2 separate regions of the Homo sapiens genome follow, and region 2 is linked to region 1. The links are contacts of gene promoters, found by promoter capture Hi-C in blood cells and fetal thymus (Javierre and others, 2016). All regions are on one chromosome and are shown on one strand. The core of a region is centred on a gene start or on the middle of the fragment in contact, and the rest is flanking DNA. Distances in the headings are between cores, read along the strand shown. Region 1 holds the start of LINC02532 (long intergenic non-protein coding RNA 2532). Region 2 overlaps CRYBG1 (crystallin beta-gamma domain containing 1).

Region 1 (6,832 bases), core at 954-3,453:
CCATCTCAAAAAAAAAAAAATAATAATAATAATAATAATAGTAATAATGACCACAAATACAGCATAGCAGCCAGCCTGCCAGAGTCCCCCTTTTGTTTCTAAACTGGATACACCTACGTGGGGTGGTGGCTGTGGGCAGCAGCTCTCAGGATGAGGAATCTACAAGACTCCAGAAGCCCAGAACAAAGGCTCCTCTCCCCTCCAGAAAGGGCATGCCAGCCCCTAGGATGATGTATATCACCGTTTCAGACAATCCTTCTTTAACCCAATAAACCACATCCCCTAGGCCTATGCCCCAGGTTTGGGGTTCTAAGAGACTTACTGCACAATGTTTACGTAAAATCATTCTTCTTTTCTGTGCTGGTGCTCCATATTAAGCAACTTCCCTTTATCTGCACTTATGTTACAGGACCTAAGAATTTTCTACTTACATCCACTTAGGGGCTTTCCATGGGCAAATCTGGCCATGACCCATCACATGCTGTTTTTCCAGCTCTTTGCTGTGTTTACTTTTCATGTAAACTTGGGTTATTCCAATAATTGTTTTTCGGTAATTTGGAGAGTTACAGGAATGCAACATTGAGCCCAAGAGGCAAGATCAAAACTAAAATTTGTGACATTAAATATCCAAGAGTTCTATCCAAAATCTTCTAGAAAGTTAATGAGAACCCCAGGCAAATCAACTGGAAGAAAAATATTTACCATTTAGCACTAGACAGTTGCAGGTACAAATCTTAGTCTACAGAAATGTCGACAAGCTAATCAGTGGGTTCCATTCCCATTCACCCAGGACACACAATACCACATTCAAGAATTCCCTAATGAATATACAGTTCTTACTTTCTCTGTGACCCACCTCCCCCACACCAAGTCCCCAGATACTGGAGACAGGGAGCTTCAAGTGGAGCACCACATATTCTCCTAAATCTCTTGTATAAGTCAGAGTCCTTCCTTTACACACAAGGGCTTTAAAAACTCAAAAGCCAGGAAAATGGGCTTCTATATCTCTGTCCCCTGTTGACTATCCCTTCACTAAGACAATGAGGACAGAGTAACCTTGCTCAAAAAAGCAAGAAGTACTTTGGGAGGCCGAGGCGGGGGGATCACCTGAGGTCAGGGATTCGAGACCAGCCTGGAGAACATGGCAAAACCCTGTCTCTACTAAAAATACAAACATTAGCTGGGTGTGGTGGCACATGCCTGTAACCCCAAATACTTGGGAGGCTGAGGCAAGAGAATCACTTGAACCTGGGAGATGGAGGTTGCAGTGAGTGGAGACCATGCCACTGCACTCCAGCCTGGGCAACAGAGTGAGACTCTGCCTCAAAATAAATAAATAAATAAATAATAAAAACAAGAAGAGAAGTAGGTGAGAGGGTTAAGAAAGAAATACAGGAGGAAAAAAACTATATAATACTTCAAAATTAATATCCAACCATAATACTAACAGTTTTGAATATATTTCCATATAGCCTGTTGATAAAAAAAATCTTTCTTTAAAATATAGATATGATTACAAGCCTCCAACAGTTTCATGTTCCCCACAAAGGAAGTATTAGAAAGATCCTCCTACATTTGGAAAATGAAGTGCTGGCACCACTGAGATATTTGTCTGGGAGACCTACTATTTGCATGGGCAGAGAAAACATTCACATGGAATATTCAACCACAAAAGCATCAGATCCTGGGAACAAAACTAACAATTTCCCAAACACTTCCAAAACATAGCTCTGACCTCTACTCCATCAAAAATTCTGATTTAATTTGAGGAGATTCTGCTCTATTTCTTAAATCAAATGTCCCTATCTCTCTTGCACCGTGAATGCTCTGAATCGACCAGTAAGACAAGAACAACATTAAAACCAACAGTGAGGGCAGTTTCAGCATCATCTTGCTCTCCTCCAAGACTTCCCCTGGTTACCTTGCTCCTTTCTCCCTGCCAGACCTTGAGTTCTCTTTTCCAAAACATGGCTTGAGCACCTCCTTGAAGAAGTCTTCCTCATGTCTCTTATCTTGTTCTAATCATCCCATGGCTAGCGTAAGTAGCACAGATCCCATCTGCATTCCAGCTATATGTGTTCCTGTTGTTTCTTCCTGTCTTCTCATTAGCCTATAAGCTCTATTGTACAAGGTCTACACACTCACATCCACTGTAGTACCCATAACCATGTTGCACAATATTCTGCATACAGAGGGAACTTAATAATTTTTGCAGTTTGACTTTTGGGTCTCTATTCTGGCTCCTGGGTAATCATTTATCAGCAAACAAATTAGTTATCAGTGAAACAGCCATGGTTTCCAGAGTTAATCATTTGTATTTCCACTGCTGGAAAAAACAACACATACCACTTTCCTTGCAGAGAGGCATGCGGTCAGAACGTCACTGGCAGATCTCGCCTGAGAGTTTTGACGCTTGTAACTCTGCCCTGGAAAGGTGAATCAACTTTTATTTTGATTCATGTGTTTTTCCAGGTTCCTTTAGCCTAAATGCATAAAAGTCAGAGAAAGTCATCACCATAATACTGATAACAACAATGACAAAGATATACACATACAGTCAGTGGCTGAACACCCACCAGCAAGATTGCTGGAAACCAAGCCGCACCACACCTGCCGGAGCATCCAGGACCATCTACTCAGTGCAGGCTCAGCAGCCATGCCTACCTTTGTCCATCCCAGGTATGGCTCCCCCAGGTGCCAGGGCTACTTCTCTCTCTTCTAGTGGCTGCTCTTCCTGCTGGCACGCAGCACCTGCCTCCCAGCTCTAAGCCTGTGGGGCAGCCAGGAGAGTCTTGCCTCTGGCCTCCGTTGGTCCCATACTTCCTGGCGAGTGGCTTTGCACGGCAGCCCAGCCCTGGGGAACTTTTCAAGGGAGAGGGCTTCTTTCCCTCCCTAACTCCCCTACCCTCACCCAACCCCACTCCATACTGGCCCTTTACCATCGCCAGTTGTTGCCTTGCCAGGTACTGTGGAACACCTACATCTTTCCCTATCACAGGGCTTGGACACACAGGCGTTGGAGTCAGATACGCTGTGTTTCAATTTTCAACCCCCTACACCAATTGCTTCTCTTTTCTGAACCTCAATTTTGTCATCCACAAAATAGAGATAGTATAATAATACCTGCCTTATGGTGGTGTTGTTAGAATTAAGCAGTAACGTCACTCGTAATGATAACAGCTGTACTGACCAAGGGACTTGTACGTGCTGGGTGCCATGCAGTGTTTTGTACCTCTTCTTGGAGCCCAGCATGGCGTCTAGCCCAGAACAAGTAGTCTGCAGCTTCCTTCCCCCTCTTCTTCTTTCTTTTCTCCTCCCTCCTTCATTCCCTAAATCAAATAGGACCTGGGGGTGCAGCATCTGGTCCCTTATGGGGGCTTTTTCCTCTCTGCAGCATCTTCCCTTCTTCTACAGGCCATCTGAGAGAACCCAGACCCCTACCCCCAGACTCTCCGCCCACTAGAAACAGGAGCCTTTTCACTCTCCTGCCCAAGTCCCCCACCTAACAGGGTAGCTCCATTTCTGTTTCCAGCCAGGTTTCCAAGCTCCATCCCCATGTTGGGGCTCTGCACCTGGTGTTCTGTTGCTCCAGGGAACACAGATGGCCAATAGCTAGAGATAAGGTCAGCTCTGTGTCCTCCTGGACCACAGAATGTGCCCCTAAGAGCCCTTTCCTTCCACTTCAGCACACAGGCAGGCCATTTGCACCAGGAATGCTGCAAAACACTGACTGGACACAGATAATCAATGCTTAAGCATAATGGTCTCCAACGGAGCAGGAGAAGGTCAGGAACCAGCAGGGCATAGCCATCCCCCTATCCTGGGGGAGGCAGTCAAGAGGAAGGGCCCCTGGGGAAAGAGGGAGCTGCACCTCGCATCAGGGGAGGGGGTGAGTGGAACACCAAGATTTACTGGACTTCAGGGGCCATCCTATTGTGGGCTAGCCTCTGAAGAACCTTTAGTAGATTTTGCCACACTTGGCCCTGGCTCTGGTGCACATGCCTCCATTGCCTCAGCAAGGCTGCTGAGCTCTCCCTCTCCCTCTGTTCCATTCTTGCTTACATAAGGCCCTGAACAGCATCTCTTTGTATTTATTCATATGCACCAAATCTCATCCACAACACACTTCAATAGTCATAGACACTTTAAATCCTACTGTTAAAATCCATTTCCTTGCTTCTATGCCATTCCATTCCTTCCACTCCCTCCCAGTTGTTCTCAAAGGAAACCATGCATCAAACATTTGAGCCTCCCTCATCAGTTCTTACTCCAAGTCTCCAGGGCCATGTGACTGTCTATGATCTAATTTCCTGTGGGGTCAATATACAATTCAAACACTTCATCAACAGACCACAGCAACTGTGGCCTCCACTTTCTACCTTCTTGTCCTGGGCAGGGCTAGGCCTGGTCACTTTCAGGACACTGAGACTCTTTCCTGCCGTCTACATCAAAAAAAGGGACCACCCGCAGCAGAGGCAAAGACTTCAAGAATGTGCCCTGATGGACAGTACTTACCTCCCTCTGTCCAGGAGGACAGGAACAGCAGAAACTCTCACTATCTAACAAGAGGAGAAACAAGGTTGGATGTCTCCAGAAGTTGTGAAAGTCAGAGAAATCATACGAATAAACAGACACTAAGCTCTGGTGCAGTCTAAGTGATTTATGTTCACTGTATCTTTACAATAATCCTGGGGTTTAAGTACTGTTACTCTCCACTTCCAAAGTAGACAAGTAAATAGCAGACAAGTAAATGGAGGCTCACCATGGCTCTATAACTGTCCCATGGTCACACAGGCCAAAGCACAGAGGAAAATGACGGATGCATCCCTCCCCTTTTGCTTTAGGAAGGGTGGTCCCCAGGACCTGGTCTGGAAGACAGAAAAAAAATTAAAAAGAGCTGGACTACTCAGCATAATAAAATGATGGAGGGTTGCCAAATTGGCCCTAGCACTTGAAGAAAGAGGATGGTTATTGAAGAGAGAAGGGGCTTTCCAGAGAAAAAGGAAGGAGGTTTTGGTACTTAAAACAACCTGTTAGAAATTTGTAAGAGTTTGTCTAGTGTGACTTGGCATGTTTTTGTGCTGCATTAGGTAGAACTGTAATTTTCTTCTGCTACCCCAAATCTTCAGTGAAAGTCAGCCAAATGTGCCAGCACTACCCACCATAACATTTGTGAACAGATGTAGGTGTTGCTTGGAGAATAAAAGGAGGGAGCAAAGTCCGGCACGGAGGAAGCAGTGTGGAGAGAGGACAGTGGCTTTGATGGGCAAACACTGGGCCCAAGACCACACTGGGCAACCGAGAATTGGGTCTGAGCAGGAATGGGAGGGAAAGGCAGGCTCTGCAAATGCGAAGGCCCTGGGGAATCTTTGAAAATGCTGAGGGGAAATGCGATTCCCCATGTAATTTCGGATGGAGGCTTGAGCCATTCGATGTGGATATTAAAGAAAGTGTGACTTCCAGGAGGCTGAAGGTTTGGAACCCTTTGTTATACCTCTTGCAATTCTATCAACAACCCATGAGATAAAACTTATTTTCCCCTTTGTACAGATGAGAAAGCCCAAGTCATTTAAGAGGTGGATGTAGCCTGGAACCAAAAGACAGGGCCGTGACAGATCGTGTCTGTCCAGTCTGCTCTGAGAACTGCCCCACTGTGGAGCACTTCACCCGGCCAGCAAGCTCCACTCACTCCCGCACAGAACTGCTCAGAAGTCCTTCGTGCTGAATTTTGTATTCCACCCTATCCCCCATGTCACTGCAATCTAAACCTTTTCCTTGAGGACTTCAATGTTAGAAGTCCGGGCTCTGACTCAGACAGCCTAGTTGAGTGACCTTCACATGACTTGGACTCAATTTCCTTGTCTATAAAAATAGGTAATACCAACATCTATTTCATAAGAGTGTCGTAAGGATTAAACAGGAAAAAAAAGTGAAGGACCTAACGTATTGTTAGCTTTCAGTAAATATTAATAGAATTAATATTTTTAGTTATTAATTAAATTATTAACTAATTAAAATAATAATTACTATTATTGTTTTTCCTTGACTTAATGTCCTGTGTACTTTTAGTTTCCCTCAATGCTAACATCCAGTACAAAATCAGAACATTGATACTGGTGCAACCCACAGAGTTCATCAGTTTTGCATGCTGTCATTTGTGTGTGTGTTTGTGTGTGTGTGTCCCTGTACCATTTTATCGCCTGTGTAGATGCGTGTGACCACCACCACAATCACGATACAGAACGGTTCCATCAGCACCGAGGTCCTTGTGCTTCCTCACCTCCCTTCTTGCCCCTCCTTTATCCTTGCCCCCCGGTTATTTTTAGTCCCCACGAAGTGTCTCAGAGAAATCTCAGACATGTTTTCCCACTCCAGCCTGTTTGACGTTGTTGCTTCCTGCAAGCCACCAGGGAGGCCAGGGGCTGCCCCTTTGTCATCAATCTCCTAAAGGCCTGTGCCCTCCTGCCCAGGATACTACCTCCACGTTCCCGCGAAGCTGAGACACGTCAGGTATGCCAAATGGAGCTACAGTGTGTGTCAATTACACAGGATGTTCTGTAAGAAATGGGGAGACTGCCCATTCCCCAGCTCTATGTTGCATTTGGCCACATGAGACCCAAAGCAGATTGCATCTGCCCAAACCATACATCCCCTACCCGTTCTGACTGCAGTTGCCTTGTTTTCGAAGGTCAGATCCAAACCCTGGGACTGGGCTGGGCAGACATTGTCTTTCCTCCTAATCTCTAAACCTGTGTCCCCCTGGGGCCTCTGTTCAAAGCTTCTTTTTTTTTTTTTTTTTTTTTTTGAGATGGAGTCCTGCTCTGTCACCCAG
Region 2 (6,270 bases), core at 1,856-4,355, 420 kb before region 1:
GGCTGCACTGTGCACATCACCAGCACTTAGAAGAGCGTGGCACTTCCTGAGAAGCGCAAGTGGTTGCAGCGGGGAGGTCTAGGTGTGAGTGGGTAAGGGTAGGAAACCTAAGAAAGAAGTCATTTTATTTTTCTCTCATATTTTATCATCCACATTGGTAATCAGTTGTAGTAGAAATATATTACCTATTCAAACGTTTACTGTGCCTAATTATAGATTATACTTTCTAACAAAATACAGTATTTAATGTACCCAACATTGAAGTTCTTTTCTATTACCTCAGTAAATATTTTAAACATTTCCATCGTGGTTTTCCTTTTAAGATCTAGTCTTATCATTTACTGTCTATCAAAACATAATAATACACAGCTATAGGTAATTTATTCAAATGTAAATACATTTTAGTATAAAATTTAAAATAGGAGGCCGGGCGCGGTGGCTCACGCCTGTAATCCCAGCACTTTGGGAGGCCGAGACGGGCGGATCACGAGGTCAGGAGATCGAGACCATCCTGGCTAACACGGTGAAACCCCGTCTCTACTAAAAATACAAAAATTAGCCGGGCATGGTGGCGCGCGCCTGTAGTCCCAGCTACACGGGAGGCTGAGGCAGGAGAATGGCGTGAACCCGGGAGGCGGAGCTTGCAGTGAGTCGAGATCGCGCCACTGCACTCCAGCCTGGGCGACAGAGCGAAACTCCGTCTCAAAAAAAAAAAAAAAAAAAAAAAATTAAAATAGGAGATTTGCTTCTCTCCTTGAGTTTTTTTATATTTTAGTGCAGTCTTGAAACACTTCATTTTTTCCTTCAGAACCGTGATGAACTTCGTATTAATAAATGTTCTGAAAAACTAAACGTACTAGTCTGTCTTTGGGATGTTTTTCTAGTTAGATCATCTTTATAAATATTTCATTTACTTCTAAGAGAGTGTACTTCTTTCTGGTTTAAAGAGAGTGGCAAAAGCACCCTTAGATTTCAAGCCAGTTTGCCCAGTGTGGCTCTCTTAAGCCTCCTGACCATATCCCTTCATTTCTGTCCAGGACTTGGAAGTGATGGAATTTGGCTGGAATGTGCAGCACTCACTGTGGTTTTTGTCTCTAAATAAGGAGGGGACAGTCAGGTAGCCACCCATATTTGCTTATTTGATTAATATTATGGGTGTTTAGGTCAGAAAAAAATGAATTTATCTACTAGCTTTGTGACCTTGGGCAAGTTATTTCACCTCTTAAAATCTCAATTTCCTCATCTGTAATATGGAGACAATAGGATGCTGACTCTGTAGGGTTGTCATGAATATTAAATGAAAGTTTATGTTATTAAGTGCAAAAACCTTAACACACTTCTGAGCACAAAGTAGAAACTCAGTAAATGCAAAAGCATCCTGGTCATCATCATCATCATCATCATCATCAAAGCAAAGGTCTAATGGAAGAAATGGAAAAGATAGGTTTGGATAGGGGAAAACCAACTCTAGGAAGATCTTTTCCTAGAAAAGTTTACCAGTCCAGCCGGGTGCGGTCACTCACGCCTCTAATCCCAGTACTTTGGGAGGCCAAAGCAGGTGGATCACCTGAGGTCAGGAGTTTGAGACCAGCTTGGCCAACATAGTGAAACCTCATCTTTACTAAAAGTACAAAAAAATTAGCTGGGCATGGTGGCTCACACCTGTAATCCCAGCTACTCAGGAGGCTGAGACAGGAGAATCCCTTGAACCCAGGAGATGAAGGTTGTGGTGAGCCAAGATCATGCCATCGCACTCTAGCCTGGGCAACAAGAGTGAAACTCCATCTCAAAAAATAAAAAAAAAAAGAAAGAAAAGCTTGCCAGTCCAAAGATGATTTAAAGTTTATTAAAGTCAGATTTTCGTATTCTGCAAATATTTGTGGCTTTTGGTATAGACATTCTAATCAATTATTTCTTTATATGAAATAATTTGAACTTGGCTACTTCTCTTTCCAAAATTTACTCTTAAAGTTTTTTTTCAGCTTGGTTTTGGTAAACATGGTCATATGATGTTATTTTTCACAAAGATAGAGTTGCTGCCCTCCTGAGTCAGCCCCATCCCCTGTCTAGTCCATAATTCTCTTGCCATTAGAGGGTCTAGTGGTGTGGTGGAATGAGCATGGCGAGCTGTGGCCAGGCCACTTAGCAGCCACTAGTGGCACTGTCATTTACCACATTTTAAATTATACTCTGTCTTGTGAATAATGTGCTCAGAATGTGGATTCTCTACTTGGATTTAAATTCTTGTTCTTCTGTTAATACTTACCATGACACTGAATCCTATCATCCTAGGAAAGTTATTAACATTTTTGTGCCACAATTTTCTCATTCACAAAATGGGAATCATAAGAGTTGTTATAAAAATAAACGAGTTAATGCATTTCAAGTGCTCAGAACAGTGGTTGGCACATAGTATGTGCTCAACCAATGGGAGTTGTTTCTCTTTTTCTTACTAGTTTCTTGCTTATGCCTCCTTTGGAGTAGGAATTTTGTGTGTTTTTCTGCTATATAATGAAAGTGGTACTTTCTTTTTATCTATTCAAGCCACTTTGTGTTATTTTGGTTTTTTTAAATATTAAAAATAGTAAAAATATTAAAACATAAAAAGGCTGCATGTGGTGGCCCACACCTGTAATCCCAGCACTTTAGGAGGTGGAGGCGGGTGGATCACCTGAGGTCAGGAGTTCAAGACCAGCCTGGCCAACATGGTGAAACCATGTATGTAAAAATACAAAAAATTAGCCAGGGGTGGTGGCGGACGCCTGTAATCATAGCTACTTGGGAGGCTGATGCAGGAAAATCACTTGAACCTGGGAGGTGGAGGTTGCAGTGATCTGAGATCGTGCCATTGCACCCCAGACTGGGTGACAGAGTGAGACTCTGTCTCAAAAAAAGCAAAACGAAACAAAACCAAAAAAAAAAAAACATAAATAGAGACAGGGTCTCACTATGTTGCCCAGGCTGGTCTCAAACTCCTAGGCTCAAGCAGTCCTCCCGCCTTGGCCTCCCAAGTGCTAGGATTACGGGTGTGAGCCACCACATGTGGCCATACTTTTTGTTATTTTGATTAGAAGTGGGTCCTTAGCTAAAGGTCAAAAGCAGTGAATTATTTCCATTGAGTTCTTTGTTTAAGAACCTGTATTTTTTTTTAAAAAAAGCAGTGAATTAAAAATTATCACCATTGAACTGAATTGAACTCCACATCTAGAAACAAGCATTAATGCTCCCTGCAGGAGAGCCAAATTCAAGCAGTAGATGGGTCTCATAATCCTGTGAAAATCAGCTCGCCTTGTTTCAGTTGGAGGAAAAGTGTAGCCAGTGTCAAGGGCAGAGCATCCTCATTGGGCAGGCAGAGATCTACCTCTGAGTGAAGGCCAGCAGGCTCAAGTTTCAGAACTATAGACAATCCCTTAGTTTTTCTGTACTCAGTGGACCTTTCCCTTCTATAAAGAGAAAACAACTAACTCCCTGTTTATATCACTAGAATGTTGTAAGGATAAACTATTGTTATCTGGAGCGTTTTTCTTTTTTCTTCAGAAAAAGAACAATCATTTAAAATGTTATTTGAAAGCATTCTGGAACTGTAGAGTGTTAGTCTTCGTAACTTAAAATTGATTCTAGTTTCCAGTCTTTTGTGGCTGGTTTGGTGCTTAGAACTCTAAACAGGTTTAATTATTTTCTAGCATAAAGAACATAGCCAGGTAAGTCTATTTTTGTTTTATGTAATGTTAGATTTAAACTGGTTAGTACTGAGTTTTCCCTCTTATTTTCCTTATACTAAAGGAAAGAGTTTTAATTTTTAGGTTTATTTTATTTCACCAGTGATAAACCAGTAATTTAAAAGTAAGTCTGCCACTAGCTGTGAGCTTCTTGGGAAGTTAGTTTACCCCGATAACTTCTGTTGTATGATCTGTGACCTATCTCTTAACATTGTTTTTGAGAGTTATAAATATATATTTTTTAAAAATGACTAGCCTAGTACCTGGCAGATAACAGAAACTCAGTAAATAGTACCTCTGAAAGCATGCCACAGTCAAAGGATAGTAGACTTTGGTGTTGGGCAGACTTAGTTTCAAATCTGCCTCTGCCATTGGGATAGATTTTTAACCTCTTTAAGTCTCAGTTTCTTCACCTGTAAAATGGAGGCAATTACACTTCTCTTATGGAGCTGTAGGAGGATTGGATGTTATCTATGTAAAGCACCCAGCACAGGGCTTGGCTCAAAGCAAGTGCTGGATAGAGGAAAGGTGGTGGTCAGTAGCAGGGGCAATACTGGCAGTGATAGTTGTAATTATTGTTGTCTTTATAGTAATGGTAGTAGTATTAATACATACATTGTTACTTTGTGAGTGGAGTAAAAACTTCAGAGGCCCAGAAGTCGTAACCAGGTCTGTTAAGCTTTGAAGTACCTTTGAGTATTTGGATGTTCATGTTGGTCTCTAAAAGGGAGACCCTTCATGCGCTCTCAGTGCCTTAAAAGTCTTAATATATCTCACTGAGGAAGCCAAGGCTAAACTTTCTACTTGACATTACAGGAGTTTTTCCCAAAGGGATTTTGGAGTCTGAGTTTAGCATACGATAATCATTTGCCACTTATCTCTGTCATTGAATTACTTTATCCCCCCTCTATTTCCACACTTTCCATCACAATCTACTCTCCATAATCAAGTGGCAGTGACATAAACCCTTTTGGGGACCTTTAGTAAGACCTTCGAAACTTGAGTTCACTTCTTTTTTCTTCTTTAGCTCTTTTTTAAAAAAATATTGGGCCAGGTGTGGTGGCTCACACCTGTAATCCCAGCACTTTGGGAGGCCAAAGTGGGCGGATCACAAGGTCAGGAGATCCAGACCATCCTGGTCAACATGGTGAAACCCCGTCTCTACTAAAAATACAAAGATTAGCTGGGCGTGGTGGCATACGCCTGTAATCCCGTCTACTTGGGAGGTTGAGGCAGGAGAATCACTTGAACCAGGGAGTCAGAGGTTGCAGTGAGCCAAGATTGTGCCACCGTACTCCAGCCTGGCAACAGAGCCAGACTCTGTCTAAAAAAAAAAAAAAAAAAAAATCAAATACATATATACTCCCTTTTTCATTAATAGTTTTGCCAGAATGTATGGCTTTTGATTATAAATCTTATTTTTAGGTCAGCATGGTGGCTCATGCCTGTAATCCCAGCACTTTGGGATGCTGAGACAGGAGGATTGCTTGAGCCTAGGAGTTCAAGACAGCCTAGGCAACAAACTCAGACCCTGCTTATCCAAAAAAAAAAAAAAAAAATTAGCCAGGTGTGGTGGCACACACCTGTGGTCTCAGCTACTGGGGAGGCTGAAGTGGGAGGATCATTTGAGCCCAGGAGTTATGATCATGCTACTGCACTCTAGCCTGGGTGACAGAGTGAGACCTTGTCTCTAAAATAATCGTAATAATAAATGAGTACATCTTTTTTGTAAGCTGAGATAGTGAGTTGCTGCTGTAGTATTTGTCCACAATTAAAACAATGTAGTAAACATATTAGATATTGAAATAGTTTCTAATTCCTAATAGTCATTCAAAATACATATCTTACTATGAACATTAAAAATACATATCTGAGCCAGGCATGGTGGCTCACACCTATAATCCCAGCACTTTGGGAGGTGGAGGCAGGTGGATCACTTACTTGAGGCCAGGAGTTTGAGAGCAACCTGGTCAACATAGCGAGATCCCATCTCTTAAAAAAGATACATACACACACATACACACACACACACACACATCTGTCTTAAAGTTTGAGTTCAGCTAAGGGGTCAGTTATGTTTCAGGAATGTCCATGCAGAAGAAAAGTGATTTATGTATTGAAAATCTGTGTCTGGTCAACATGAGAAGATCGTTTGAAGCTTGAATGGTGTGTTCTTCTGTCTACCTTGAAAAACTTGTCCCAAAGTGAGTTTTCAAGATACAGGATGTATGACTGTCTAATGCTTGTGAGGAGCTTAGCAAGAATGACCAGCGAATTGCTTATGAGTCTCATTAGCTCATTTACAGTTGCCTTAAAACATAGCTGCATTGGGCTAACCCAAATGCCTCATCAACATACCTGTACAGATTCAAATATATGAGAAGTCTTCCCTCTAGAGAGTGAGCCCTTGCTTAGTGCTGCCTTTACAGCACTGTGCATCTTCTGGATTGTTCCGTTCAGTGGAAGAGAAGCAATGACCCCTCATAACAGAGACCTAGATTGAGTTGCTAATTATTCAGCCAGTATACAGTATATACTATAGTGTGGTTAC

Evidence for each region. The method cuts DNA at HindIII sites, captures the fragments that hold promoters and counts their contacts. A CHiCAGO score of 5 or more calls a contact.
Region 2: a fragment that was not itself captured here is called in contact with the fragment with the promoter of LINC02532 in region 1 in 1 of 17 cell types (M1 macrophages); the score reaches 5.0 in M1 macrophages.

Annotation. Positions count from the first base shown.
Region 1 is chr6:106,785,338-106,792,169 of GRCh38, forward strand. LINC02532 (long intergenic non-protein coding RNA 2532) reads right to left here and starts at 2,204. Exons shown (of 7, transcript NR_033557.2): 1 at 1,922-2,204. The HindIII fragment of the contact is 9,342 bases long and covers 1-6,776 here.
Region 2 is chr6:106,362,540-106,368,809 of GRCh38, forward strand. All of the region lies in intron 1 of CRYBG1 (crystallin beta-gamma domain containing 1), which reads left to right. Among named protein-coding and RNA genes, the nearest start is that of CRYBG1, 5.0 kb to the left of the region's middle. The HindIII fragment of the contact is 2,582 bases long and covers 1,815-4,396 here.